2 separate regions of the Homo sapiens genome follow, and region 1 is linked to region 2. The links are contacts of gene promoters, found by promoter capture Hi-C in blood cells and fetal thymus (Javierre and others, 2016). All regions are on one chromosome and are shown on one strand. The core of a region is centred on a gene start or on the middle of the fragment in contact, and the rest is flanking DNA. Distances in the headings are between cores, read along the strand shown.

Region 1 (7,235 bases), core at 541-3,040, 160 kb before region 2:
TTGCCTGACTCCTAAACCACCACCCCAAACTGTCAAGCCTGCCCTCAGGGCTACAGAGTGTCTCTTGGAGGAGATCATCAGCCCCTCCACCTTTCGCCTCTCCAGTGGGTAACTGTACCCCAGCGTGGCATTGAGGGAGACTTAAAGCTTTAAGTCTTTAAGACAGGAAGCTTTGATGGGGTTGGAGACAGCAGAGGTGATAGGAGGGTGGAGTGTTCTTGGCTGACAGCAGCTGGGAGAACTGGGGGATTCTGAAGACAAGAAGAGGGATCAAAATGGGGATCAAAGACCAGCCCAAGATTTCTTCGGTCTTTGAAGATCAATCCAGGGCAGGTTGGGAGTGTAGGTCCCCTTTTTAAGCCCCAAACAGAGGGTAGCCCAAGGAGAAGAGCAGGCTCCCAGCCCGTCCAGGCCCAGCCCCTCCTGCCCCATCCCACACTTACTTGTTGCTGAAGACTTTGCTGTAGTTGAAAACCTGAATCTCCAGCATCTCATTTCTGTCGATGCTGCTGGCCACCGGCCACCGAAATGTCTGGGGAGAGAGGGACAACTGCGGCTTCGGTGGCAATAACAGGTAGGAGCCGTGGGGTGTGGGAGGGGAATCTCTTGTGGGGATCTCCAACAGTCAGAGTGGCCCCTCACTTGGGCCCAGTGCTCCCCAGGGACAAAGCATTGACACCTGGAATCTCATTTAGTTCCAACAACCACCTTGTAGAGCCGGCATTGTTGCCCACTCCTCTTTCAAAGATGGTGCTCAGAGATGTTGGAGGACCTGCCCAAGGTCATGTGGTAGGTGAAGAGCCTGGACCTACCAGGACTTTTGACTCCCTACACAGCGCTGCTTCCATGGCCTCCCAGCTCCTGAGGGGGGTTGGGAGAGGGTGGTGCAACCAGGGTGGTGGTCGGGTCCCAGGGAGACAGCAAGGAATGTGGGTGTGAGCCTGGTTTTTGGTGGGTGCTGAATGGAGCTGTGAGCTTCCAGCTCTCTCTCATCAGAATCACCCTGACTGGCACAGGCTCTGCCCCAGACTCCTGTGTTGAGTTCAAACCACTCCTCACTCTGCCAGTGGTAACACTGGGGACAGGTTTGAGCTGATTAGTGTTATTGGGGTCAGGCCCACAGCCTGTCCCCAACTCATTGTTTCTAGATTCACCCTTACCACTTCTTCGTTGCTTCCTCCCTAACTCAATGTTAATGATGAGTAGGAATTTGATTGGGATTTTTCCTGGTGCCCTAGAAGTGGCAACAATGGCTCAAAACAGAGGCTAAAGTGGCCCAGTGCCCCATTCTGTAAAAAGCTGCCAATGGGCAGAGCCAGACATCTTCCTAGGGCTTCCTCAAAGGCCCTGTTACCTCCAACCATCACCCAGCCCACCTTCCTGGGATGGGAAAGAAGACTGGGCAAGGGAAAGGTGGGAAGAATTCTGTCCTAGGCGTAGTGTTTTTGTGGTACTTCTTGGGGAAACAGCTCATGGTGATTAGATACCTGCAAGAGGGGCAGCATGGCATGCAAATCCCCAGTGGCATCTGCAGGGCAGTGGACTGGCAGGAGACCCATAGAGTACAGCAGGGCAAGGAGCCCAGCCTGCCACTGTTGGCTGTGGCAAGTCATCTATTTGCGCTCCATTGGCCAAGTGGGGTAGAGTGATATGAGGACAGTTTTTCCATGGGCTGCCCACCAGGGGAGGATGTGGAGGGCCTCAGCAGGGGTCCCTGTCCCACTCCACATCCTGAGCCACAAGCATGAGGGAAGGAGGATGGCCAGGGGTGAACAGGATGCCAGACTGGAGTAGGAAGCCCTTCTGGACAGGACCAGACAACGCTGAGGTCTGCTCAAGACGCTGTGGAGAGACCGTGTCAGGGAGGATTTTGACAGATCTGGTAGAAGGCAGTGACTTTTTATTTTTTAGTTCCATTTTTATACCCTACCAAATTCAGACTGCTCAATAGTCCAGTAATAAATAATAATAGTAATAATCGCTGCCATTTCTGGGGAACTTTTTCTTATGCAGAGGTCTGAATGCTCTACGTGCATATTCATTCATTTAGTCTTTCCAATGGCCGGAGAGGTGGGTAATGGCTTCTGTGCTCTATAAACAAGGAACTCGGCCTCAGAGCAGATGCATGACTTGGAGCACTCTGTTGCTGGCTGAGCAGGCCCTCGGGAGGAGGCTTCTGTGAGCCCACCCTGCACGTTTGCCATTCCCAAAGCTGAGATTCCTTCTCCCAGCCTGGGGACTTGGAGGGCTTGGGCACACTGGGCCAGCACCGCGGGTCACTGCCCAGTGTGGGCAGGGCCTGTCTCAGGAAAACGGCCTTTGTGACATCTCCCTTCAGGACTGGCAAGGGAGGACCTGGCCTTGGCATGAGAGGGAGGAAGAAGCAGAGGAGCGGGAGAGGGGTCTGCGGGGTGGGGTGGGGAGGGTTCTGAGCAGGGCCTAGGGAGGGCTTCAGAGGCGAGGTGGGCACAGGGCGGAGGGGTGCGCTGAGAGTCCCAGGAAGTGGAGGCAGCCCGGCCCACAGGCCTCATTCAGCGGCTGCGGCTCCAGCTTCTGGATGCCTCTGGCAGCTCAGCAGAGTGTGTGGTTTTCTTAATGAAGCTGCTTTTATGGGGCTGCAGGGAAATAAAGCAGCCCAGGAAGGCCCAGCTCATCAGCCAGGGCGCTGTGTGGGAGTCGGGGGGCCGCAGGAGCCACCGAGATTTGGTTTACTGGGGATGAAGAGGGGAGGGGTGATTGGTCCCCCTGAGGGTCTGTGGGTGGGATTTTGGCATTGGAAGGAGAGAAAGATCAGGAGAAAAAGGACATGACTTTGGAGATGGCCCTGTGAAAGGGAGGTGGGGTGTTGAACGGTGGCGGGAGGCTGAGGCTAAGGGACCTGGGGAGGGAGGCTGCCTGGCTGCGGGGCGAGGGCCAGTTTGTTGAGTGAGAGTCGGGGGACAGGGAGGGCACAGGAGACAGGGGGCTTCCGGGGCCCCTGACTGCAGATGAGAATAATCAGGGGAAGCGTGTGTAGGTGTGTGGCTCAGGTGCCCTTTCAGAAATTCGTCAGCCGGGTCTGGGCAGTCCATGCCTATGTCAGCGGGGAATGTTCTTCTTGGAGGCTTTCCGGGTGAGGGAGAAGACAGGGTCCTCACTGAGTCACAGCAGCTTCTTCGGTCTCTGACTTGCTCCCACCTTACAGTTTCCTTTCTTTCCTCCCCTGTCTCCCTCCCGCATTTTCCACCCACACGAGGCTTTCCCCTCATTTCTTTTCCTTCCCTCCCGCATCATTCGTCTGCTTTCTTCTCCTCACCACATCTGTTTTCTTTCATCAGTTTCTCTCTCTGTCTCTATCTCTCCCTTTGTCTCTGTCTCCCTCTGTCTTTCTCAGGGGTTCTTCATCTTGGCTGGAACTGCAATCCATTCCAGAAGCTTTTAAAAATCCCAAGGCCCAGCCTGGAGACCGATCAAGCCGGCACCTCTAGGTGGGGTCCTGGCATCAGTGTGGGGCCTCGGAGGGTGACGGGCCTCTTGGCTGGAGGGAAGTGACTCAGGGTCTGGGACTGGGGGTTACTCCCATTTGGCCTCCCTGGAAGTAGAGGCATGGGCTGTAAGAAGGAGACTTTTGGGGTTGAATTTTCCTCTCTTTTTATCTCTCCTTTGTTAAAACTTTTCAGTGGCTCCTCTACAGCTCCCTGAAAGAGGTGGGGATTCCCCTTCCTAGCACCCAGAGGCCCCCTTGCTGTGCCCAGACAGCATTTCCAGCCCCATCTCCCATTGCTGACACCTTCCTTTGCTGAGGCAGCCTCTGTGAGCTCTGGGCACCTCACAGAGCTCCAAAGGACATGCCCACCCTTTGCTTCTTTTTTGTTCTTCTGACAACACCGAGGCTTGTATCTCACGCAGACTGGGAGTCTCCGTGGTGTTGCAGAAACTCTGAGTTTGAGTCAGGAGACTTGAGTTCTAGCCCTGGCTCTGCCACTCACTAGCTGTGCCTCAGCTTCCCCATCTGTGAAAAGAGGGGGGTGACAATATCTACCTTAGAGGGCTATTGAGAGAATCAAATGGGATCTCACAGGTGACAGCAGTCGTAAGTGACACAGCACGGCAGAATGTGTTTAGTTTAGATCTTCCCAGTGGGAACTCTGTGCAGGTCTGCAACTGCCTTGTCTCCTTGTCATGCCACCTCCCTCCCCTTCGCCGCCATCACTTTCCTCTTCTGCCTCGGCCTGTGGATTTCACGTGTCTCTTTCACTGCATCTTCTCTTCCCTAATTTCATTTTTCATTGTCTCCTCATTTTTGTGGTTATGTCCTTTCCTCCATTTGGGGTGATATGCTGAGAACACAGCAAGACGAGATGAGGATTTTGAGGGTTTGGGAGCTACACTCCTCTCCTGACTATGGTATTGAACTTGTGAGCTATTAGATTGAAGGAAAGGGGGCTGGGGGCAGTGGCTCATACCTGCAAACACAGCATTTTGGGAGGCCAAAGTGGGCAGATGATTTGAGGTTAGGAGTTTGATACCAGCCTGGCCAACATGGTGAAACACGGTCTCTACTAAAATACAAAAATTAGCCAGGTGTGGTGGTGCATGCCTGTAATCTCAGCTACTTGGGAGGCTGAGGCAGGAGAATCGCTTGAACCTGGGAGGCAGAGGTTGCAGTGAGCCCAGATGGCACCATTGCACTCCAGCCTGGGTGACAGAGTAAGACTCCACCTCAAAAAAAAAAAAAAAAAAAAAAAGACTGAAGGAAAAGGGCTTCTGAAGGAAGAATTTCATCTGGGTAGGACTTAGTACTTCCAGAGCACATTTACCCATAACCAAGCTCACAGCAACATGGCAAAGATGTGCTCCTTTTACAAGTGGGAAAGTGGAGAGGCGAGAGTTGCCCGCGGGCACAAGGCTGGTTGGTGGCAGAGGCAGGATTCAAACTCAAGTCTCAGGATGCTTAGTCTGGAGTTCAGTCCTCAGGGCTTAATCCACTACACTGAATCCTCTCCTGAAGCCTGGTACTGCTGGGGGACTCAAGTAGCAGTTAAGCCAAACACAGTCACTCAAGATGTCACGAGCCAGCAAGCCCCATGCTGGGGGCGAACATTTGCTGAGCACTTGCTGTGTGCCAGGCTCTGTGCATGACGCTGTGCAGAACGCAGGGATGCAGGGTTGTTTCTCAGTCCTGGGGATGGTCCTGGATAGTTCTGGAGACAGACACAGACCTGGAATAGCAGCCTGGGATAGGACTGTTGACAGAAGCAAGGTGGTAGGTAGTACAGATAGGGAGGGAAAGAGGGCCTCTGTTGGAGGGAGTGATCTCAGGAGCCCGGGGAGTGCTGAGTCCTGACCCAGTTTCCTGGTCTAGGCTTAGCCCTGACCTGGCTGGTGCTGGCCGGGGCACAGGGTTCTGCATCCTATCAGCCCCAGTGATCTAGGACTCTGCAAAAAAGGTTTCCCTGATGTACCTTGGAGAATGATCTGGATTATGTCCAGCTTGGCCGCTGAGTGGGCCTGGAACCATCCTAAATCAGCAAGGTAGCATCCTTAAAGGGACAGGGCTATAGGTTTGGGGGAAAATATTGAGATGCACTACAAAGCTTTAGAGCAGGGGTCCCCATATCCCGGGCCACAGACCAGTACCAGTCCATGGCCTGTTAGGAGCAGAGCCACACAGCAAGAGGTGAGCCGCGGGTGAGCGAGCATTCCCGCCTAAGCTCCATCTAATGTCAGATCAGTGACAGCATTAGATTCTCATAGGAGTGTGAACCCTACTGTGAACAACATATGCAAGAGATCTAGGCTGTGCACTCCTTAAGAGAATCTAATGCCTGATGTTCTGAGGAGGAACAGTTTCATCCCAAATAACCCCCAGCCACCACCATCCCAGTCTGTGGAAAAACTGTCTTCCACGAAACCAGCCCCTGGTGCCAAAAAGGTTGGGGACTGCTGCTTTAGAGTACAATGGAAAGAGACGGATTTGCAAGCTTAAAGGCCTGGGCTCAGTATCCCGAGTGTGGCTATTTCACTTTCCCAGGGCACAAAGGCTGGGTCTCTGTGTCTCTGTCTCTCTCTCTCTGTTTCTGTCTTTGTCTCTGTCTCTTTCCCCAGCTTCTTTAGAGTTGTAAGTTAAATGTAGGATCTCAGATCTCAGCTGGTCTTCTTGGGCAATTCTCTTCCCCACTCTAAGACCTGTTTCTTCAACTGCAAGACAAGAGGGTTAAACTAGATGATCTCTAACCTTAGAGATCAAGGTGATCTAAAGTCCCTTTAGGTGATCTCATCTGTGCCTTGCCTGCTTCCTTTCTATCCAGGCCACAGCAAAGGGCTTGATGTACCACTAGCCCTGCTGAGCCCACTCGGTCTGGGCACAGGCCTGCGGTGACAGGTGCCAGTCCTAGTGAACGTCACTGTTTTTTTCATTCTTTCACTCGGCAACATTTTCTCAACTCCATGCTGGGTGCCAGGCCAATGACGAACAAGACAGGTGCGTTTCTGGCCTCCAGGAGGTAACAGCCATGACTTCCTGGTACAAGCAGAAAGGGGCAGATAAGGCCAAACTCCCCTGCCCTGTCATCCCCCAGGCTGGAGACCTCTTCTTCCTCTTGGCTCAGAAGGCCCAGGGTCCCTCCTTGTTTGTAGTGGGTCCATCTGCCCGCTAGACTGAGCCCCTTGAGGGCAGGGCTGAGTCTTGTCTACTTTACAAATGACCATAGGTCCTGGAATCAGATAGACTCGGGTTTAAATCCTGTTGTGGCTCCTTATCACCTAGGATGCTACCAATCCAGCAAGTTCTAGTGAGTCTAATGCTTGTGTCAAGCTCTCAGCCCATCTTGCCACACACTAAGTGCTCAGTAAATAGCAGCAGTTCTTCTTATCATTGGCACAAGTACTATTGTTACTCTGGCCTCTCCCCTGGGGCCTGCTCCACACAGGGCCTGTGTTAGAGCCAAACCAAACTGGCTAAAGGTGGCTACTCCTGTTTCCCCAGGTCACAAAGGCTGGGTCTTTCTCTGTCTCTCCCTAGCTTTTCCAGAGTTGTAGGTTAAATGTAGGGGCTCAGGTTCCAGCCTCTGGGAAAGGAGACACCATGTCCAGGCTCTGTTTCCACCCATTGTTGTAGAGAGCATTGTCTTTCTTCCATGGCATCCTCCTCCCCACTCAGGTTCCTAAGCCCAGCTGCTGCAGCCCCTCTCACCCATGCCTGAGCAGAGGAGGGGCCCCTCCCTTGCTTGGAACCCCTTACCTAGTAGAGCTGT
Region 2 (6,647 bases), core at 3,156-5,655:
CTGGCTTGATGTCAAGATGGCTCTGGACCCTGCCTCCTACATGAACCATGGGCCCCAGGCCCTACTGACCCACCTGAGCCCACCAGGCCAACTGGACCAAATAGAGGGGTGTTTACAAACACCTTCTCTGTGTCAGCTGCTGTGCCAGGAGCTGTGGCTTACAGACATGAGTAAGGCCCTACCCCTGCCCTACAGGAGATTATGGTCTGCTCTAAACAAAACGAACTTGAATTTCACGTGAGGATCTGGTCTAGAAACTGATGGAGTCAGGATCTGAACTTCAGCTTGTCTGACTCAGGGTCCTACCTCATTGATCCTGCCCCTATCCTCCAGCCAAACTGCCAATACAGGGGGCTGGAAAGCAATGGACAGGGAGGTATTTGGGCCTCTCATCCTTCTGGCCACATTCTTGGCCATTGTACACTGACCACTCTGGTCAAATGGCCAGGGCTCTCGTTAACATCCCAGAATGTCAGAGCAGGAAGGGACCTTTGGATACAGCCAACGCTTTTGTCTTATAGAAAAAGAAACTGAGACACATAGAGGCCACGTGAGTTTCCCGAGTCCACCCAACTAGTTGGTGGTAGTTGATGGCAGCACTGGGACCAAACTCCAGCCTCTGGACTCCTAGTTCAATGCTGTCTCCCACATGCTTCCTTGGGCCCTGGGACACACATCTGTCTTTATCCTCCTCTCCTAAGCTAGACAGAGCTTGTCCCAGCTTTAGAACTATCTCTCTTCAGAGAACCACAGAAGCAGATTGCCAGGGTTTTTCTGCCTGCAGACTCAGCCATCTGTGCCCCTCTCCCTCTGACACTGATGGTCTCTAACTCAGGTATAGAGATCCTTAAAGCCTTCATTTGAGTGAGTCACCCAAGGAAACATGTGGAGCAGCTCTAAGGTGCAAAGTACTGCGGGGAGAGTAGCATGAGTGAGAAGGGTTTCCTCCACCCTGGAGAAGATAATGAGCCAGTGGGGAAGATGGATATGAAAGAACAGCTAATCTTTTAGGCAGGAGGAATACCTGCTGAGTTGATGCTTAGATAGGGTGCTGCAGAAGCACAAAAAGAGCCAGTGGTTCTGATCAGAGGAAACTGGGAAATGCTTCATGGAGGGAGTGGTCTTTAAGCTGGGTCTTGGAGCCTGAATAGGAGTTCAACAGACAGAAGATGGGAAAGGCAAGGAGGCACCAGCATCCCAGGTTATGGGAGCCACATGAGCCATGTGAAGCATGGAAGTACTTGGATGTGTTTAGAACTTAGAGAAGAATGGACTGGAAGATAAAGCTGGTTAATAATTGTGTATGATGTTAGTATATAATAAAATATAGTAACTAATGACACATTCTGTTCAATTTATCCTACCTAACTCTGTGTCCCTTTCCTCACAAACTAGAATCTTAAAAGTAGTGCTATTTCCTCTTTTTGTCTGATTATTGGGAGAACTAGAGAAACAGAGTCCGGGAAGGTCATGGGATGCTATAAATGAAGGGAGTGTGGACATTTCCTGGTCCAGACCCCTCCACTGATGGATGAGCAGCAAGCCTCAAGGAGAAGGAGCGACTGGCCCCCAATGCCAGAGCAAACAGGTGGCAGAGACAGGTTGACACTGGGCAGGCACAGGCAGGTCTGAGGAGCCCAGGATGGGAAGAAATGGGATAAGCTGATATGTCTTTGGCACAATCTGACCCAGGTTGCCTACAAGTCCCAGGGGCTACTCAGAAACCTAGACTGGTACCAACATGGCTCCTATTCCAGAACCTTCTCCCCAAGAGAAGGAGAGAGGAGGGGCAGGAAGAAGGAGACCTAGGCTGCCCTCTGGGCTTCAGGGCCTCCCCACTGATAGGTGCCCTGGTCCCACACATAATAGGTGCAACAAGAAAGTGCCAACCTTGGGACATGAGTCCTGGTTCCCCCTCACTCACTGTGTGACCTTGGACAACACTCTTCCTACTGTCTGGGCCTCAGTTTCCTCATATGTAACATGAGAAGGTTGGGCTAAATGATCTCTAAAGGTCCTTTCAGTATTGAAGTGCTCAGAGAAAAAGCTTCATCATGATTAATAATACATGCCCTGCCCCTAAAGACAGCTTTTTCCCTTTTCCAAAGCTCTTTCACTCATAATATCACCTTTCATCGGTACAGCTGTCTGGCCTGGCAGTCACAAGCAAGCAGAACCTGGACACAGCCTTTTCACCTTGAAAACCTGGTCTAGCAACCCTCTTGCTCATCTAGACAGGCTTTGGGGGAATTCGCTTCTGGGGTGACTGTCACCAGGAGCCAATACATCAGAAATGCACAGAACCTAACTTGTACCTTCACCTCTGAGAAGCTGGGAAAGGCAGTACTTTCCTTCCAGGGAGCCAGAAGATGCAAAGGGGAAAAGCCTGCAATAGGCTGAGTTGCTGGTCAGAGGGCAAGACCAGAAATTCTGTGCCTGCAAAGAAACAAAGATCTTCCCTTGAAGAGGGAGGGGGAACATGGTGCTATAAATGTAGGACCCTCCCATTGGGCTCTGAAGTCATTAGAGAGCCTCATATCATCTGATTTGCACACATGTGTTCTTCTTTGATCTCTCAAAACAAATGGTTCAAGACGCGGGTAGAGCTAATATTATTATCTATTCCACTTTACAAATTGAAAAAAAAAAAAGAGAGACTCAAGGAGTCATGGCAAAGAGCATGGGCTTAAGAGGCAGACAGACTGAAGCCTCTTCCCAGCTGAGTGAAATTTACTGATTCTCTACATTGCCTTTAGCCTCAGTTTCCCCATCTATAAAATAGGCATGACCACACCTACCTTTCAGGATTGTGGTGAGGACCAGAGATGATGAATCCCTGACACACAACAGATGCTTAATAAATACTTGTTGAAGGAATGAAGGGGTTGGTGGCACTTCTGGGGTGTCATTGGAGGAGTGTAGTGTCCGGCAGTGACAGGTCAGCCCAGCCTGTGGGTAGACAGTGCTCCAGCTTCTGGCTGACTGCCTCCTGAGTCTGCTCTCAGTCAGGGGCCTTGGTGTCTCTTCCCTGTCTCTCTGCCTGGCCCATGCCAGGGTCCTGTGAAGGACTTTTTAACCCTTCTTGGCACTGAGATTTGCATTCCAATCATTCTGCTCACTCAGCCCATCCAAGTCTGGAGTTGTTTAGAGCTGGGCAAGGCCTGTGGGATCATCTGCTACGACACCTCGTTGAAAAGATAAGGAAACAAGGCTCTGAGAGGGTCAGTAATGCCTGAGTTTCCACTACCCTTCCCACCTCACCACCATAGCCACCATGTTTGACAAATGAAGAAACTGAGGCATAGGGACCCCCTCTCCTGCCCCAGTTCCCGCAGTCTGCCAGTGAGCCTCCTGCTCTGGGCCCCACCTGCCCAATTCCAGCTAGATCCCGGTTCTGCTGGGATGCCCTAAGGTGGTGGCAGGTGCTATCTCTGGCAACTCAGCCTAAGCCCAGCCTGGTGCACGGGTGCAAGACAGGAACCATGGGAGTCGGGACAGCCTAGAAGCCCCTGGGAGCGAAGCAGGAGGCCTAGACTCCCAGCCTGTGCCTTCTCAGCCAGTTCCAAGAACTGTGCTGACCTGGGAAGGCACACATTGCCTGAGAACAGGGCTTTCCCTTGGGTGTCAGCTCATGTGTGCCCAGGTCCACAGCTGGGCCCTGCCTGCTTCCAAGACAGCCAGAGTCTGGCCCAAGGGAGGAAGGAGTGTGGCCTGGGAGGAAGGAACGCTTGGCTGAGTCCCAGTGCTGTCACGAAATCACTGCGTGCCCATGCGTGTCACTTGACCTCTCTGGGCCTCCATTTCCTCATCCATAGGATAAGGGCAGGACAGCGAGGCCCCAAGTGCCTCCTGGCTGCAATATGCTGTGATGAGGGTGGAGGGTGGGGTGGGGAGGGGCTCGCTCTGCCTTCCTTGCCTTCCTGTCTGTTTCTCTGTCATTAGTTTATCTCCAGCAATCCAGGCCTCTCTGTCTCAGTCTGTTGCTCTCTCTGTTTCCATCTTTTGCTCTGTATTTTTCTGCCCGCCTCTCTTCTTTTTCTGTCTGAGTGCACCTCTGATTTTATCTCCTCCTCTGTCACACAGCCCCCTTCCCTCAGTCCTACACTGCCTTTCTCCCATTCTCCGTAGTTATCAGCGTTTCGCTGTCTAGTTTTCTCTGTCTCTCGGGCTCGCTCTCTCTCTCTTTCTCTCTCTCTGTCCTGCCCGGGCTCTCTCGCGGCCGCCCCTCCCGTCCCCTCCGCCAGCCCCCCTCCTCCCTCCTCGGCGCGTCTCCCCAGTCCTTATTTGGCTGGGCGGGAGGGCTGGCGGGAGGAGGCGGCCTGCGGGCGGGGGGCGGGGGGCGGGCGCGGGGCCGGGCGGAGGAGGGCGGTGGGTGGTGCTGAAGGGACAGCTCCGCGGCGGCGGCGGCGGCGGCGGCCCCGGGCGCTGAGCGGGTGCCCGGCGCGGAGAGCGGCGAGCGCAGCCATGCCCCAGGCCGCCTCCGGGGCAGCAGCAGCGGCGGCCGGGGCCGAGGCGCGGGCCGGGGGCGCCGGGGGGCCGGCGGCGGCCCGGGCGGGACGATGAAGCGGCAGAACGTGCGCACGCTGGCGCTCATCGTGTGCACCTTCACCTACCTGCTGGTGGGCGCCGCGGTCTTCGACGCGCTGGAGTCGGAGCCCGAGCTGATCGAGCGGCAGCGGCTGGAGCTGCGGCAGCAGGAGCTGCGGGCGCGCTACAACCTCAGCCAGGGCGGCTACGAGGAGCTGGAGCGCGTCGTGCTGCGCCTCAAGCCGCACAAGGCCGGCGTGCAGTGGCGCTTCGCCGGCTCCTTCTACTTCGCCATCACCGTCATCACCACCATCGGTAACGGCTCGCCGGGCGGGGGGCGGGAACCCAGGGCTGGGCGCGGGGCTCCGGGAGTCGTCCGGGGCCGGCTGGGGCTGGGGGCGGGGGCTCCCCCGAGAGGGGCTGGGCGCCGAACCCTGCGCTCGCAGAAACCCGAGTTCAGCCTGGCGTGTGTGCTCCGCGGGGACGGAACTCGGGGAGGCGTCGATTCCTGGCTCCGGACCTGACTCTCCGGCCGGGCCAGCCCTAACTTGGCCCTGCCATGTTGCATAGGCCCCCAGGGACTCCGAAGTGTGTGAGAGGGGCAGGGACGACCGGCGGAGGCTCGGGCAGGAGGGGTGTGGCCGGGCCAGGCCCTGAACAGGGCGCTGAGAGTGAGCGGCGGGAGAGCGCCAGTGCTCCGTATCCCTGAGGATCGGCTTCCACAGCCTAGCAGGTCTACACCTGCTGGGCTCTGGGGAGGCATGAGGATGTCGGAATGCGGCACTTCGGGGCACTTGGGGCCACCCTATAACGGCGGCTGTGAGTGTACGTGTGTCTGCGTGTTTCAGCTCCAGGAGTTTGGTCGCCACCAGTCAGTGCCTGTGATTTTCTCAGAGCGGCAGAATTGGTGCGGGAAGCCAGATCTGGCCTTGTCAGCCTTCTTCTCTGCTGTCCCAGCAAAACAGTCACCTCACAGGAATAACCCCAGTTCTTTCCAAGCCAGGGCAGATCACCATGTAGGAGGCCACACGTACACCCAGACTGTCAGACAACACAGGCATAGGCACACATGCACACAGATACACACAGGCACTCACAGGGTACACACAGGGCGGGCACACACACACACACACACAGAGAGAGAGACAGAGAGAGAGAGAGAGAACAAACGTTGCCCAGGAAAGGAATCTCTAGCCAGGCCCTTGGTGGTGCTATTCAAAACTGTCCAGACGGGAATAACACCTTACCTGTCCCCAACACCCTATGATTTCAGCCCAGCTCCATCACTACCGTGATATATGACCTTGGGCAAGTCCCTTCCCCTGTCTGGGTCTCAGGCTCACCTCCAGACAAGGAGGGGTGGCCAAAATGATCTCAAGAGCTCCTCCCCAGCCCCGACGTGCTTGGATTCTGAGATGAAACCCACCTTCCCCCAAAGCCCATTGAGATGCCTCCAGAAGCAGTTTCCTCTGTCTTTACTGTTCCCTCTCCTCTCCCTAGTCCCCTTCCCTGCCTTGATCAGACTCCCAGGGGTTCGTTGCCACTTAGCGCAGCCCATGAAGATGGCATTGTTTTCCTGGGAGTCAACAGGAGCTGAGGGAGTAAAAGGCAGGACTAGACACTCTTCCTGCGGTCTATCCACTGCAGGACACTGTTCCAAGAATCTACGGCTCCCTGGGGACCATGGGGAGCTATGCTGTGTCGTTTCTGGATTCTTCTCTTGGAAGAGGGAGGAAAGGGCCCTGGGAGTGGATGTGGCCCAGCTGGGGCACCTCTGGGTCCTACTGGTCCTGTGAGTTTAGGATAGGATGATCAGACTTAGGTCTGCCCAAAGAGGAGCCCGCTTCCTGAAAAACACCAGCCCAGATTTGGTCTGCAGTCTCTTCCACTCTCACACCCCACTACTATTTGCCAGGGTTTCAGTAGCTGTTTAGCTGTCTGGAGAATCAAAAGAATCAGACTGAACATCTTTGGACCCTCTCTCTCCCTCTTTTCCACACGTCAAGCCTTCACGCGTGTCCCCTTTCCTTCTCAGGCCCATGGTCCCCAGCTTCATAGTAACCTCCCAACTGACCTCCCTGCCTACCCCACAACAAGGCATGCTCCCCTGGACAATGCTG

The links. The method cuts DNA at HindIII sites, captures the fragments that hold promoters and counts their contacts. A CHiCAGO score of 5 or more calls a contact.
Region 1: a contact is called between a fragment that was not itself captured here and the fragment with the promoter of KCNK3 in region 2, in 1 of 17 cell types (M1 macrophages). The highest score is 5.2, in M1 macrophages.

What each region holds. Positions count from the first base shown.
Region 1 is chr2:26,527,389-26,534,623 of GRCh38, forward strand. It overlaps OTOF (otoferlin), which reads right to left. Exons shown (of 47, transcript NM_194248.3): 3 at 444-532. Among named protein-coding and RNA genes, the nearest start is that of OTOF, 28 kb to the right of the region's middle. The HindIII fragment of the contact is 3,244 bases long and covers 169-3,412 here.
Region 2 is chr2:26,688,317-26,694,963 of GRCh38, forward strand. KCNK3 (potassium two pore domain channel subfamily K member 3) reads left to right here and starts at 4,406. Exons shown (of 2, transcript NM_002246.3): 1 at 4,406-4,842. The coding sequence starts at 4,560. The HindIII fragment of the contact is 28,883 bases long and covers 2,046-6,647 here.